2 separate regions of the Homo sapiens genome follow, and region 2 is linked to region 1. The links are contacts of gene promoters, found by promoter capture Hi-C in blood cells and fetal thymus (Javierre and others, 2016). All regions are on one chromosome and are shown on one strand. Each heading gives the region's core, a stretch centred on a gene start or on the middle of the fragment in contact. The rest is flanking DNA. Distances are from core to core; before and after follow the strand shown. Region 1 holds the start of NDUFB6 (NADH:ubiquinone oxidoreductase subunit B6). Region 2 has its middle 89 kb from the start of TMEM215.

The links. The method cuts DNA at HindIII sites, captures the fragments that hold promoters and counts their contacts. A CHiCAGO score of 5 or more calls a contact.
Region 2: a fragment that was not itself captured here is called in contact with the fragment with the promoter of NDUFB6 in region 1 in 1 of 17 cell types (M2 macrophages); the score reaches 5.2 in M2 macrophages.

The regions. Positions count from the first base shown.
Region 1 is chr9:32,570,158-32,575,619 of GRCh38, forward strand. NDUFB6 (NADH:ubiquinone oxidoreductase subunit B6) reads right to left here and starts at 3,002. Exons shown (of 4, transcript NM_002493.5): 1 at 2,724-3,002; 2 at 803-895. The coding sequence starts at 2,903. RefSeq lists enhancers at 2,550-3,089, 3,360-3,409. The HindIII fragment of the contact is 6,496 bases long and covers 1,862-5,462 here.
Region 2 is chr9:32,870,266-32,875,436 of GRCh38, forward strand. No RefSeq gene overlaps it. Among named protein-coding and RNA genes, the nearest start is that of TMEM215, 89 kb to the left of the region's middle. The HindIII fragment of the contact is 1,275 bases long and covers 2,928-4,202 here.

The sequences.
Region 1 (5,462 bases), core at 1,752-4,251:
CCATCCTTCTTCCAGATGTCCTCCTCCCTCTGCTCAGGTACCAATATCCTATACTAGGCTGTTGCCACTGTTGCTCCCCAAACAGATGTGCTCACCCTCCTCCCCTGCAACCCACTGAGGATCTAACACCCCTCTCTTGGTATACGAATGCCCTCCTCACTCTTTTGTGCTCCAACACTTCAGGCTACGCAGTCACCACTGCTCCCTCTGCCACGCCACTTCCCAAAATGCATGCCCTTCTCATTCTGCCTGGGATCCAACACCCTGCACCAGACCAAGCCTTTAAAATACCACAACTGGCTCAGTTCCATCAGCCCATGCAAGATCTGTATCAGTGAAAAAGTGCAGGCATCTGGACATCCTGAGTTCTAAATAAATAAAAATTGTGAAGAATCAGATAAAATGAAGGGAACAGAAATTGGGTGATGACAAAGATATGCTTTGTCTATTTTGAATTTTTACCTTATACGAGATACAGGTTTTTAAAAAGGAGCAGAATTGTTTTCTCCCTTCCTATTCATGACTCCAAATTTACCCTAGTATTATTAGGTCACTACATTCTTATCACTTAAATACTAATTTCTATGAGGAAATCCATTTCAAGTTGTAAACTAGTGACAATATTTTTTAAAAACTATACCCAATTATGTAACTTTCATTAAACCTTTTACCTAAGAGAATTCAAAGTACTTCAAAATCTGTTTATAAGTGGCAGATTATTTCCACTAAGTAGGGTAAGATAGCCACAAAGAAAGTAATTTTGGACAATATTAAAAATGAATTCTGAAAAGGACATACTTACAGAAACATGATACTTCATGTAATAATGAATAATCCAGACAGGTACAAGTACATGAGTGAAAACAAAGATACTCTTTTTGTATACCCCATGGACCTGGGGGGAAAAACACATACACAAAATAAACATATCCCATTTTTTATATTTATGGCAGAACAAAAGGCATCAATGATGTAACAATGCCATGACTATTTTACAAAACTCTAAATGGCACATATTTTCTTATAGTCTGTAGGTAACCTCATCTACTCAAATATTCTTAGTAAATGCAGAGTCTGCTAGAAGATACCTACAAAGTCCAGACCAAAATGCTTAAGCAGTATTTTGCAAGACTATAACAAGGCATTTATAGATTTTTTAAAGACTTCCAAAAATATCCTTATTATAAGTTTGTTAAAGATAAAATATAGCAAAATAATGAAAGAATAATTTTAATGTATTTAACCAGAGTAATCAAACCTACAGAATTTTTCAGGTATAGTCATCTCCCTTATTTATTGATCAATGACACTCACATCATTTTAGGTATAAGGCAGACAACCTTGACAACGCCAATGCTGGAAAAAGGACGTTTTACATACTAAGATGGGGTGTCCCAAACTCACTCCAAAATGCCCTCTGCAACACTATTTTAAAAAAGAACTAAAAATGGAACTTTCCCATGTCTTCCAACTTGATTAAAAAACACCTATCCATTCAAGGAAGGGACAATCCAGAATCTAAGAATTATAACAGATATGATTATAAAAGAATAAATTAAAGTAAGGTAAGGTGAACTTCGACACATTATTATTTATTTACTTCCTTATATCACTTGCTGATGGATGGGATGTCAACTTTAAATCAGTGACTGCCAATATTCCGATAATGTCAGGGATACAAAGGGTGGGAGAAGAGTTGAATTTTACCACCATAAATAAGTATCCAATATCACTTTCTCAGAAAAATTTTCAACAATTCTATTGCACTAGACTTTGTAGCACAGTAAGAATCAGATACATGTTGATTACAATATGAACTCATATTCAATTCCTAGCTCCCTGACCACCAGCAAATCACTGAAGCTTTGTAGGCCTCAGTTTCTTCACATTTAAAATGAGGATTAGGAATATCTACCTTACAGGAATAAAGAAATGAAGTAACACATGTAAAACCCCCAGTAGAGTGCCAAGCACACAGCAAGCACCCGTGTGTTACGTAGTATTGTTACTACTATTATCCTGTCATCAGTAAGTGTTGCAGGTAACTGAAAGCAATTCTGAGATGTTTATCATCCATAACAGTCCTCAAGAAAATACCCAGAGGCCTTGAAAATAAAGTTCTTGAATGAGTGATTTTCTTCAAAGCCCAAAATGCGATTTTTTTAATGAAACACTGTGTTAAAAGTACAGAACGGTAGTTTAGAAAGGTAGCTCTTGAATGTGACTCACAAGGCATACCAACAGGACCCTGTCTTTTACGGGGATCACATGGGGCTGTACTATCAGCTAGGGGCTGGCTGTGCCCTCTGGTGGTTGGATACTGTGTTACTTGGTCTCTAGAACCTCACACTTAAAAGTCAGACAAGTGTCCTCAAATACTTAAATCACAGAATTTTAATTCTAGCGAGTCCTTGGTTATTATTCTGAGGGAAGATTTCTACAGTCAAAAGAGAACCAAACGTGCAGCGTCCTGGAAAACCTAAGTATTAAAATTCGCCCCCGTCCACTGTACTTGACAGTAAAAGGCATGATTCTCTCAAAGCCATACATATTCCTGGACTCCTGCCTCCCGAGACTCCAGGAGGACTCTCGGGACTGGCCAGTGTCCCAGAGCACTGAGCGTTATCAGTCCTTGGTGTGGCTGCAGGGAGCGGACGTTCAGTGTTCAGGCTGCCGGCAGCAGTGGGATGTGTTGGGGGGGACCGGAGAGGTCTGTCACTCACCATTTTCCTCCAAGGGGATTTATTCTCCAAAAATTTATTCCAGAATTTCTCCATAGGCCCCATCTTCTGTGGGGGCAGCACCGGCTCCCGAGGGCTCAGCTCCTGGTCCTTCAGCCATCGCCTTCTCAGCTCTCGCAGCTGCTGCAGCCGCAGTTTCTCATCCGGAGTGTACCCCGTCATGTCGCCGCTGGTACCAACGCAAAAGGACACGGCGCACCCTCGAACTACGGACTAGTTACTTAAGCGCGCTCCCGCTCTGCAAAGCGACCTTGCGGGAACGCCGAGCGCCGCGCGCGGTTATTACGTCACATCCTGGTTCCGCCTCTGCAAGGGCCCCAGATTCCTCGCGAGGAAAGCAGTGTGTGGGCATGCACAAAGGTCTCCACCTCCAGTTCTCTCTACGCCCACCTCCGCTATACCCGACCAAATTAGGACCGGGTGGGGACAAGGAGTACTCGTAGTTGTGGGGCCTGAGGAAAGTGACAGATTAGACGAAAGTATGCTAAATTAGAGGACTGGAGGTTTTGCTAAGGAAGAACTTGTATGCTGGGAGGAGGAAGGATAAGCATAAATGTTTCAGTGAATATGCTGGCCAGATTCAAAATTATTTGCTTGCCTCTCCCACCTTGGAATGACCTAGAGAGTGTATGAAAATAGTTACATCCCAGTTCAAATCCCAGCTATGCCAGTAACTGCTGAAGTGCCCTGGGCAGCTGTCTCATCTGTCCCTCCATCTGTACAGGAATAGTGAAAAGAGTAGCTTAATATCTAGCAAAATTGCATAGATGAATTCATGCTTTCACCCAAAAATACGTGTGGTGAAAATATGAAAGAGCATGCACGACTATTCAGCACGATTCATAATACCAAAATATTGGAAATTACCCCCAAATTCCTAAATAAAGGACTGCTTGAATAAATTGTAGTACAACAGTCAAAAGACAGCATTACAACGAATTAGTTTAAAAATCTTAATTGACTCTTATTCGTGATTCTAGAATCAAAAAACACCTCATTCTATAAAGTAGAATGAGTGTTCTGATCAGCTGAGCAGAGGCGGTTGGTTTTATTGGCAAATAGGGGCTGAAGAAAGCAGAAACCGAACAAAAAGTGGACTCATCGTTTCAAAGTTACTTTTAGGGTTAAAGCAGAAGAAACTTCCTTGTTTCACTGACTCAGACTTAAGGGAATTTCCTATTTTTTGGGAAACTGGCCCATTTCAAAGTTCAGTTTGATTGTGTGGTACTTAGCACAAACGACTCCATTCTGGTTTGGTCTGGTCTGCTGGGGCCTAGTGCGTGAAGCTAGTCCAAAACAGTGGCTTCCCAAAAACTTTCACACAACAAAGCAATGAAATGCTAATACAATCGTCAAAAGTAATAAGGAAGAACTCTATATACATCTGTGGTGTGATCTCCAGAATACATTACAAAGTGGAAAAAAAATGGATAGGAATTTGTACAGTATGCTTTTACCCAAAAAGAGAAAGATGGTGGTAATTTCAATATATATACATATTTTCTTAAATTTTCAAAATAATGGGAATGAAAACAATTGAGGTTTTTAAAGATGCTACCTATGGTGGAGGAAATAAATAGGATAGAGGAGACAGGGATAGAATCTAGACATCTCTGGAAACATCTTACTTCATAAATTTGACTTTAGAACCAAGTAAATATTTCATATTGTGAAATTAAATTTAGCTTAAAGATGTCTCCGTATTTTGAGTCCTTATATAATGAACTGCAACCCAACTTAGTATGCAATTTAACTCACAGCCTAACTTAGGAATATACTTCTGTAACAAATAACTGAGTCTCAGCCAATCATCACAGGTGGTCAACTGATCAGCCCATGTTCAAATAAGGCAAAGGCCAACCTGTAGCCAATCAAGCTGTTTCTGTATCTCATTTCTGTTTTTTTTCTATGCGTGCTGCCTGGCCTCTTTGTGGAACGATACTTTCTGAACCTCCTCTGGTTCTGAGGGCTGCCTGATTCTCAAATTGGTCATTGCTCAATTAATTTCTGCTAAATTTAATTTTTCTAAAGTTTTAATTTTAACAATATCATTACAAAACAAAATTAAATTTACAAAAAGCAGTCCATAAAAATCAAGTAAAAACCAGTAGCTCTTAATTGGTCCACTTGGTGGCATAATCTCAAAGGTACACATCATTCTAAATACAATAGCCCTTGTAACAACGCTAGGGTTAGTAGTGCCAATCCCCTCCACTTGGCACAATCAAACATCCACATATAACTTTGGACTCTCCAAAAACTTAATAGCCTACTCTTGACCAGAAGTTTTACTGATAACATACAGTCAATTAACACACATTTTGTATATGTATTATATGCTATATTATTACAATAAAGTAAGCCAGAGAAAATAAACTGTTATTAAGAAAATCATAAGGAGGCAAAGAGAGGGGTTGGTCTTGCTGTCTTGGGGTGCCAGAGGCAGAAGAAAATCCACGTATGATGGACCCTCGAAGTTCAACCTGTTTTTTTCAAGGATCAACTATAACTTTAAACCATTGAATTATTGTAAATCCACTGAGAGACAACCCGCAAAAACAAACAAAAAAAAAACAACTTAAAAAAAATCTTGGCCAGGCGTGGTGGCTCACGCCTGTAATCCCAGCACTTTGGGAGGCCAAGGCGGGTGGATCACAAGGTCAGGAGATCGAGACCTTCCTAGCTAACACAGTGAAACCCCGTCTCTACTAAAAATACAAA
Region 2 (5,171 bases), core at 2,315-4,814, 300 kb after region 1:
TGCCAAGTGCAGAGCCAGCTTTCAGTGTAAGATTGTAGAATAAATTGGATAGAGAGCTGGGGACAAACGGGCTGCGAGAAGACAAAGAAAGGAAGGCAAGGAAGGAGAAGAGAACTCCACAGGATACTGACTCCACACTTGATACGCTTTCCCCTACCTTGGGTGATGATGATTTAATCCTTGTGAGAACCCAACCAGGGTAGGCACTATTGTTACCTTCTCTGAATAGAACAAAGAAATTAAGTAACTGGCACAGAGATAGTCATTAGTGAGTGAGGGGTCAAGATTCAACCCTCATCTACCTATTCCAAAGCCCAGGCTGTTTTCTCTAAGAAAACACAGCTCAGCCCAGTCCCTTTCCCTGGTTCTGCAGCTCTGCCCTGTCTCCATTCTGCAGAACCCCCTCCCTGTTACTGAAACCTCTCCAACAATCCAGAGAGCTGGCAGTGTTACTGCAATTCCAAGTCCTACGAATCTACACCAGTGCAGTCCTGTGTTCTTCAGGTAGGAAATATTTGAGAGAATGAATTCATATACGTTAGCTAGGTGCTACTTTCCTTCTCAAAATAGTAATGAATACCTTTGCTGTGAAATTATGGTAGGGAATAAATTATTGTTTATGCTTTTGTTAAAACAAAACAGCTCTAAGGTTGGGTGCAGTGGCTCACGCCTGTAATCCCACCTTGGGAGGCCAAGGTGGGTGGATCACTTGAGCTCAGGAGTTCAAGACCAGCCTGGGCAACATAGGGAGTCCCCATTTAAAAAATTTTTTTTTAATAAAAAATTTTAGAAAACAGCTGTAATGAACTAAATTCTAGCATGCTTAAGTGAAAATTGGGAGAAAAAATTTGGATTGTGACCACCAAATGAAAAAATTACATCCTCCTATCAATGGCTCCGAATACTTTTAAGTTATTCCACTTTACAGTGTGCCGAGCATTTTAATACAAATTAATCTCACTTGGTCTTCCAAGAAGAATCAAATAAGTTATATATCTTCATCTTTTAATGCAGATAAATCTATCAATATGTTCCTTTCAAGTTTATTCATTGCTTTTCGGTTCGTAAATTCCTTTCTTAAAATTTTTTCCTTTCATCTTTTACAATGAATTATTTAAACAACCTAAAATTAATTTGAAAAATAAGATAAGGTGAGGCTATAATTTGATTTTTCCCATATTGATCTATTTTTTATTTTTTATTTATTTACTTTGTTTGTTTGTTTGTTTATTTAGAGATGGGGTCTACTGTGTTGCCCAGGCTGGTCTCAAACTCCTGAGCTCAAATGATCCTTCTGCCTCGGCCTCACAAAGTGGTAGGATTACAGGCGTGAGCCACCACACCCAGCCCTCCATACTAATCTATTGTTGCAGCACAATTTATTGAATAATCTTTCCTCTTTTCAGATATTTGAGCTTTGCCATGCATTTATTACACACATATCCATTTGTCCATTTCAAACTTATCTATTCTATTCCAAATCTATTTGCCAAGTCTTTTTCTCCCAATCATACACTCTTCTAATTACTTTAATTTTCTATTTAAAAAAAAAATCAAATAGTGAAAGTACTCCTCTTGCATACTATTTCTCACCACCACCACCACCCCCTTGACATACACACACACACACACACACACACAACATCCCTGTTTACTCTCATCTGTTAATTTTTCCAAATAAAATTTAGAATCATAATATTAGCACAGACCCGAGGCCTCCAAGGCAGGGAGCTGGCAATGGGGCAAGAACAAGCCATTTCCCACCTTCTCTTGAGCAAATAATACTGCTCTTTTATGCAGGGTGAAGCAAGTAGAGTCTGCAAATTGTTTTTTTCAACCCAACTTCACTCTTCCTACAACTTTTGGAAATCTGTATTTTCAGAAGCTTTTCTCACATCAAGCAGAATTTGTTAGCAAAACCTGTTCTAGCTAAGCCTATGGTGAATCTGTCAGAAGGGGACGGGTGGCCATGCTGTGTGCAGGAGCTTCTAAGAAATAGCACTGCTTAATCCTATCACCTATGATGCTTATAGCAATCGCAAAATTACTTAGACATTTAAAGGGAAAAAATTGTCAGAGATGTACCTCTTAGGTGAATGGTTTTACCATAAAAAGCTGACTGCCTTGTCTTGGGTTAAGAACACATTTTTGGTTACATAGATTTCCTCCCCAATAATTGTTGGAATATTGGCTAAATAAAATATTCTCCATAGCAGATTTAAATCACACCCAAAACTGTCCATTTGAGTTACGAGTATTTGTCTTTTTCTTTGTGTTTTAGGCATTTTCTTGAGACACTGGGTAAAGATGGGAGGCTGCTAAATAGAGGCCATTTAAACCACTTTAATTGTTATTTCAATGGGGAGTTGGAAGGAAGTATGTTGGGTACACTGCTAGGTAATCTACCACTGCGTGACCCACAAATGCAGACATTGTCTAAGTTACATTTGCACGACTTTTAACTAGCACTGGGAAAAGCCTGGCTTAAGAGTAAAAGAAAGGCCTAGAATCCAACAGACCTGGGTTCTAATCCTGACTCCACTTAATACTATTTGAAAACCCTGGGCAAGTTTATTTCCCAGCTCTGTGCCTCGGTTTCCTTGAATAGAATGTTAGGAAACTAAAACTTACCTTGTAGGATTCAAGAATAAGAGATAATGCATAGAAAGGACCTTGTACAATAGTTGGCACAAAGTAGGTACCTAATGAAAAGCCAGTTATTAATGCCTCCAAGAATATGAATGGTCTGTATGTCCATATCATTTCTAGCTTAAGAACTCACCCAAAAAAAGTAAAAGGATAAGAGCTCTGTTGAGTGGAGAAAAAAGATTCTAGATGATTCTCTTAGTTTACAGAATTTCTGCCTAGGAAATCAAATTCTTGCCTCTGGCTTGAAGGGCATCCAAGAGCCCACTCACTGCAGCTCAAGCTTGGCACAGTCGTAGGAACATCTCCCCTGCCCTGCACTGAACACACTCCTCAGGAACCAGCCTACGAGCTTACTTTGGGTGAAGTGCCGCTTCCTAGAAGCCAAGAGCAGCCATGCAGATGCTGCCCCCGGTGCCCCTGCTGGCATGGGAATCCTTGGCCACTGTCAACCCGCTGCCCAGGCTCCCCTCCACAGTCCACCGAACCACATCTGAGTGGAAGAAACAAAACAGCCCACATCAGTGTGTGCAGCCAACAAACGGAGCAAGCTGATCAGCAGATATCACTGAAAAAACCCCTCATAATAATAATGGCTGCCGTGCATGTGCCAGACACCCCCACCTGGCACTTTTCACGTGTCTTCTTGTTTAATTATCACAATAACCCTATGAGATGGGTATTGGTACTGTATCATCATTTTACATAGGAGGAAATGAGGTTCAGAGAAATTCAAAGTAGCTTCTCCAACATCCCATAGCTGATAAGAGTCAGAGATAAGATTACAACCCAGATCTGTTTGACTCCAGCGCTCAAACTCATTCCACCATACATGCTGGCTGTCCCAAGAGCCCACGTACAGAGTTCTCTGCTTGGGATTCAGAATCTGACTCATAGTCTCTGACCTAAAAGGAACGTTTGAGAATCTCAGTTATTACAGTATGTTCTCCAAGCCCACTCTTGTACACTCTGCCTTGTGATACTGGGGATGGGACCCTGCACAGCCCATTTCTCCTTTGCCAGCTGCTCTCTTGAGGTGTTTTCTAGGGGTGGGGAGTCCTAAAGGGATACCTAAAGGAGGGAGACGCCATCGGCTACTTCCTGCCTGCTTCCCATTTAGGTCAGCATGGCCCCAGAAAGGTTTCTTCTTTAGAACTCCTATAGCAGTCTGTTGCCACAGCACAGGGATTCTGATTGCAGTTTTCTCAGCACCAGCCATGTTGTACCACTCTCCTTCCCCCTCCCCAGAGGCATCAGGACCCACCTGAGCTAAGAGGTGCATCCCCTTCTCCAAGTTTCTGAGTTTTAATAGTCACAACTTCTTCACTCTGTTCCCAGCCCCTGCAGCTGTTTCCTCTGTGGCTCCTTTGTGCTCCCTGATTGCCTTTCCAGTTCTTTAATTCCTGGTTAATAATGAATTGTATCAACTTCTCTTTTAAAACAATGGGCATGGCTTGTCTCCTGACTGGACTCCATTTTACACAAAGAATCATCGTCTGCTCTAATGCCTTTCAAATGAGGAGACTGAGGCCCAGAGAAGTTAAGTGACATGCTTAAGCTTGCACGCTCAGTAAGAATATAAAATAATGTTGCTACGATTTGTCCTCTTAGAATGTGCTATAACACCATGAGGTACATACCACCATCCCTATCCCTACCCACACCCTCTTAGAATGTGCTATAACCCAGTTACATACATACCATCATCCAAATAAAACAAATGCAGAAATTGAGGCTCAAACATCATGTGATTTCCCTAATGTCACCCCTTAATGAGTAATAGAGGTACAATTTGAACTGAATTAGCCTAACTGTGAAACCAGGGCTCTTAACCACTATTCCATACTCAGTGTGTTATCTCCCCATCCCTCTGGACTGGATAAATGTCTCTGCATCTTCAAGGGCTGGTGGAGCTCCTAGCTGTGGTTTCTCGCTCTCCTAGAACTGCTCACTCTTGAAGCCAGTAATCTTTTCTTAGCACTACTGGCACAGAATATAAAATCTAAATATTGTCCATCTACTAACATTTCTTTAACCAAGTCCCCAAACCAAAGGGAAGAAAGCAGCTATCTTTTACATGATATTATTGTCTCCCAAGCTATCTGGGAATCTTCAGGATGATTAAAGTCCCTCTCTAGCCAGTTGCAATGACTCTAAGTCCTAGATGATTCACAGAAAAAAAAAAAGGGGGATGGGGGTGGGGAGGACTACTTGGCAATTAGGAAGGAGTAGGATCACAGTTATGAAAGCTATAAATATCTTTCACATGTCTTCTGTAGACTGGGCTGCAAAATAAGAAAGTTCCAATATCCTATTTATTAGTTATCAAAAAGCACAAAGTTGCACTTCAAACATATCAATAAGTCTCTCTCTATTACCTCTTGACAGGTAGAGCCCAATTAGGAGCTTCCAAGAAGCTGGGTTTGGAGTCCAGCTACTTCCTGACTGAGAGCTCTGCTGAACACTGCAGCCAGTTAATCACAGGAGGAGACTGGATGGCTCCCATGTCAGGCATGCTGCAGGGC